2 separate regions of the Homo sapiens genome follow, and region 1 is linked to region 2. Evidence: promoter capture Hi-C in human tissues and cell types (Jung and others, 2019). All regions are on one chromosome and are shown on one strand. Each heading gives the region's core, a stretch centred on a gene start or on the middle of the fragment in contact. The rest is flanking DNA. Distances are from core to core; before and after follow the strand shown.

Region 1 (2,700 bases), core at 200-2,699, 290 kb after region 2:
CACCATGTTGGCCAGGCTGGTCTCGAACTCCTGACCTCAGGTGATCCACTCACCTTGGCCTCGCAAAGTGCTGTGATTACAGGCGTGAGCCTCCGCGCCCGGCCTTTTTTTTTTTTTTTTTTTTTTGAGACAGGGTCTCCCTCTGTCACCCAGGCTGGAGTGCAGTGGTATGACCTCAGCTCACTGCATCCTCCACTTCTTGGGTTCAAGAAATCCTCCCCCCTCAGCCTCCCAAGTAGCTGGAACTACAAGCACACACCACCACACCCAGCTAATTTTTAAAAACTTTTTGTAGAGACAGGGTCTTGCTATGTTGCCCAGGCTGGTCTGGAACTCCTGGGCTCAAGCGATCTTCCTGCCTCTGCGTTCCAAATTGCTGGGGTTACAGGCATGAGCCATGGTGCTAGGTACATCCATGATTTTTTAGCACTTCCCATGTGGTGTTTTAACAGGGAAAGAGAAGACCACCTCAGAATGTCCAGAACTGAGGAGTTTCTCAGGAGGTGGGACTTTTTTTCTTCTTTTTTTGAGACAGTCTCGCTTTTTCACCCAGGCTGGAGTGCAGTGGCACAATCTCAGCTCACTGCAACCTCCGCCTCCTGGGTTCAAGCGATTCTCATGCCGTAGCCTCCTGAGTAGCTTGGACTACAGATGCCTGACACCGTACCCAGCTAATTTTTTATTTTAGTAGAGATGGGCTTTCACCACGTTGCCCAGGGCGATCTCCAACTCCTGAGCTCAGGCAATCCACCCACCTTGGCCTTCCAAAGTGCTAGGATTACAGACGTGAGCCACCGCGCCCAGCCAAGAGGTGAAACTTTTTAAATACTGAAACCAGGATAGTCCCAGGCACACTGGGACAAGTTGGTCAGTGGGTACAGCTGCAAACAAGACAGACACAATCACCTCTTCCAGGAAGCCTTTCCTGATTGGCCCACCCCCTCTAGCTCAGGGGCACCCTCTGCCTCCCCCTACCACAGCTGCCTCTGTGCCCTCCAAGAAGGCACCATCGCTCCCGGTTGCAAATGCCTGCAGTCACATCAGAGTTAGCTTAGGGAAGGCAGAGACCGGTTCTTTTCCTGGCCACCAATGTGTCTCCAAAACCTACCACAGAGCTTGGCATCAAGTAAAGACAAGTAAATGAATGAAAGCTGGCACTCTTTGGCTAACAGATGAGAAAACTAGGGCTGAGACAGGTGAACCACTCCAGCAAGATTCCCCAGTAAGGCTGTATGGGGAGGAACCGGGATTCGAACCGGCATCTGGCGAGACTCCTTCACACACCCACGCACTCACCGTGTTGTAGAACTCGGCCACCAGCTCCGAGTACTGGAAGTTGCTCTCACACCAGTCCACCTCGGAGCTCTGATAGGCGAAGATGCTAGGCATCTTGTCTCAGTGGCCACCACCAGCCGGCTGCGCCCGGCAGAGAGAAGGCGAGCTTGGGAAGGCTGGGCCCTGATGAGGCGGGGAGAGGACAGCCCGGTGCCCCGCGGCAGGCAGACTGGGAGGAAAAACCTGCTGGGCCGCTCCCCAGTTGCACCAGGGCAGCCTGGCTGTGCAGTGACAGCAGCCCTGAGCATAAGCCGTGGGACTGGCACTGTCCAGGCAGGGCAGGGGGCAGAAGTAGGCAGGGAAGAGGCCTCCCATCCAGATTACCCAGGAATAGGAATCGGGGTGGGGGCAGTGGAGGGAACTGTTTTTATCTTTTATGTATGTATGTATTTATTTATTAGAGTCAGGGCCTTGCTCTGTTGCTCAGGCTGGGGTACAGTGGCATCATCATAGCTCACCGCAGCCTCAAACTCCCAGGCTCAAGCAATACTCCTGCCTCAGCCTCTGAAGTAGCCAGGACCACAGGCACATGCTGCCACCATGCCTAGCTAATTGTTTTTTTTTTTGGAGACAGAGTCGCTCTGTTGCCCAGGCTGGAGTGCAGTGGCATGATCTCAGCTCACTGCAAGCTCTGCCTCCCGTGTTCACGCCATTCTCCCGCCTCAGCCTCCCGAGTAGCTGGGACTACAGGCGCCCACCGCCACGACCGGCTAATTTTTTGTATTTTTAATAGAGATGGAGTTTCACTGTGTTAGCCAGGATGGTCTCGATCTCCTGACCTCGTGATCCACCTGCCTTGGCCTCCCAAAGTGCTGGGATTATAGGTGTGCGTGAGCCACCGTGCCCGGCCTTTTTTTTTAAAATTGAGATGCAGTCTGGCTCTGTCACCCAGGCTGGAGTGTAGTGGCGCAATGTCAGCTCACTGCAACCTCCACCTCCTGGGTTCAAGCGATTCTCCTACCTCAGCCTCCCAAGTAGCTGGGATGACTGGCACCTGCCACCATGCCCAGCTAATTTTTTTTGTATTTTAGTAGAGATAGGATTTCACCATGTTGGTCAAGCTGGTCTCGAACTCCTGACCTCAGGTGATCTGCCCACCTTGGCCTCCCAAGGTGCCGGGATTATACGCATGAGCCACCTCACCTGGCCTGAGTTCCTCTACTTTAAGCTGTGTGACCTTGGGCAAGTGAATTTACCTCTCTGATCCTCTGTTTGCTCACCTGTCATATGGAGACGATGGTGACAGAGCCAACTGTAACAAAGGAAGACAGAGATAAAGCATGTACAAAGGCTTAGCCCACTGCCTATGCTAGAGTAGGCACTTGATGGATGGTAATGGGTTTTCTTTTTTTTTTTGAGATGGAG
Region 2 (2,700 bases), core at 18-2,517:
CCCTGGCAGAGAGGAGGGGAGAGAATGTGATGGTCTGAACAGAGTGGGAAGGAGCGGCATGCCTGGAGAGATGGGGCAATGGGGGGACCCCAGCACACCCCCGCTGCCCTGCCCTCCCCTCTCTGAAACATCAGTTCAGAGCCTCGGCTGACAGGCCCCGAGGGACTCTAGTCCGAGCAGTGGAAGCCAAACGCTTTGCACATGGGACTTCAAACTCTCACCCCAGAGGGCATCTTAGTGGCTGTCTACATCCACTGAATTTTGGGGTGAGAAGATGGAGGGCCACAGAAGTGGGCTTGTTCGGGTGTCATGGTGTCATGGTGACCTTCCTCTTGTGCTTGAAGCTGCAGGATGGGGCTGACCTGCCCCTCCTTGGACCACTGAGCATGGTATGCACTTGTCCAACGCACCACCCCCAGAATCACAAGTTCCAGGGGTTAACATCTGTTGGGTGATGCCCCAGGGGTGGAAGTCAAATGTCGAATTCTGGGGTCCAAGTGAAATGCAGAAGTTACAGAAAGAGCTGGGGCAGGCCCAGCACCAGAAAAGTGGTGGAAGCTTCTGGAATCTCCTCTCCTTGGTGTCTCTGGGGAGTGCCTTGACAGACAGCAGCTAAGACAGAGCCACTGGCCTGAGGCCCTGCGTCCCCGCTGGGCCTGTCTGGAGCCTTTTCCTTCCTGTGATCCTGCAAACCTTCCTAGTTCTCATGGACACAGTCACCTGACAAATGCCTGTGAACAGACTGCCAATCTAGGCAGGACCCTCCTGAAGAGCGGTGCATTCTCTAGGGCCTCAGGGCTCCTTTTAGGGAGGAGCCTGAGTTAACTTTAATTCAGGATTCTGCAGGGCACAGTTGGCAAACTCCGGCCCTGAGGGCCAAATCTGGCCCACTGCCTGTTTTTGTAAATAAAGTTTTATTGGCACACAGCCACACCCATTTGGTTGCATATCATTTATGGCTGCTTTTGCGATACAATGGCAGAATTGAGTGGTTGTTCCAGAGACTGCCTGGACCACAAACCCCCAAAAATGTATAATTTGGCCTTTTCTGGAAACAGTTTGCTAACCATGCTTCTAGAGTGTCCCCAAGCTGATGATCTGTGTTGCTACTTGGCTGGTCAGCCGTGCTTTCAAACTTTGTTCTTAGATAATTGAAATCATAAGAAGCATTTCCTCTGTTGTGCCCGCATCTGAGGGTATGGCACTCACTAGCAGATGGTTCCTCCAGTCCAGAGCCCTTTGTTTCTGTCTGCATTTCTACCTGAGCTCCACCCAGCAGGTGCGGGGTGCTCACTGGTTCCCCAAATGCTTGCTGAATTTCTGAATGAACGAAAGATCACCAGCTTTCTTGGCTTTCTGCAAAACTATCTGCAGTAAATGATTTTTTTAAAATTGCACAGCTTCTGGAAAAGTCTTTTGGCTAAGAAACTGAAGCTTACAACAAGGAACAGCAGCCACAGAAAAGGATGCATCCTTCAGAGATTGTTCTGGATTGCTGAGTGCTAACTGCGCCCCGGTTTGCACGGTGCTGCGGTGCTTGTCATTACCTGCTGGGGTACCTGCTGAACTCTGGGGAGGGAGATCGGCTGCATCTGGGCCCCTTTGGGATTGGAGCTGGCTGCCTGGACCAACACCCTCTAAAAGGGAAGGGAGAGAAGGCCAGTTAGACTTGTCAGAGGTCAGTGCTGAGGATACACACAGAATGTAAGATGCTGTTTGTCTGTTCATGTGCTTTTTATTAAAACATAGGCAGGACTGATCAGAGGCGACGGCGGGGTGATGGTCAGACTTGCACACTCACACCGACCTGGGCAGACACACGGCAGGTACGTGCAGGCACACAAACAATGCACATACATACACAAGTGTGCACATACACTCAGCCCATGCACCACACATATGCACGAATTGTGGGCACACACACACGTATGCACACACACATACACGGAAGCACATGCACCTTCACCCGCCCAGGCAGCTTTGCCTCTGTGGGTCTGTAGTCTGCAGCAAGGTGACACTGATCGTCCCTAGTACAGAGGGGACTGCTGGGGCCCTCTGGATAGCCATCCGCACCACTGCGTGGGAGAGCACTCTGTGGCGCCCCTCGCTTCTGCAGTATAACCCGGACTTGTTTCCATTTTCTGATGAGGTTAATGAAGCCAGAGGGCTCAAGTGCTGCCTCTGGCTACAGAATACTCGAGTCCAGGTGCCCTGTGTCTGGGTCCCTCGCTCTCTGACCCCACTGCTCTCCAGCCTCCTAAGTCAAATCTGCACAGTGTGGCTTTGCTATTTTTCTGGGAGTACCGATTGGCCACACAAAGCTATCAAAATGGGAAGGGTCAAAGTGAACTCGAGTCGAGGGAGGAACAGGAGTGTTTTGTGTGTTTATTGAGAGCTGGGGCTTTCGGAGTCATTGGCTGCAGTGCTGTGATTTCCCGGCATGAACCCTGAATGTCACAGGTAGCAGTGACTGCCATATATACATCACGAGGGGTGATGGGTGAGGACACGCCATCCCCTGTGTTGCAGGAGTGGAGCTAAGGATGAAGATGGTGCTAATAAGGATGCCAGCGCAAGGGCATTCTGATTCCAGGTGAGCTGGGCGCCGTGTGCTTGGAGAATTCACAGGGTCCTGGCAAGTCCTCAGAGAGGGACCACAGTGATGAAACCTGGGACACACATGGTGGCCGTGAGTGGCAC

Evidence for each region. The method cuts DNA at HindIII sites, captures the fragments that hold promoters and counts their contacts. A contact is called where the count stands out against the background at its distance.
Region 1: a contact is called between the fragment with the promoter of ACER1 here and a fragment that was not itself captured in region 2, in 1 of the 25 tissues and cell types used here (dorsolateral prefrontal cortex).

What each region holds. Positions count from the first base shown.
Region 1 is chr19:6,332,163-6,334,862 of GRCh38, forward strand. It overlaps ACER1 (alkaline ceramidase 1), which reads right to left and starts at 1,450. Exons shown (of 6, transcript NM_133492.3): 1 at 1,297-1,450. The coding sequence starts at 1,389. The HindIII fragment of the contact is 13,348 bases long and covers 1-2,700 here.
Region 2 is chr19:6,042,646-6,045,345 of GRCh38, forward strand. It overlaps RFX2 (regulatory factor X2), which reads right to left. Exons shown (of 18, transcript NM_000635.4): 3 at 1,548-1,637. Among named protein-coding and RNA genes, the nearest start is that of RFX2-AS1, 19 kb to the right of the region's middle. The HindIII fragment of the contact is 4,983 bases long and covers 1-2,700 here.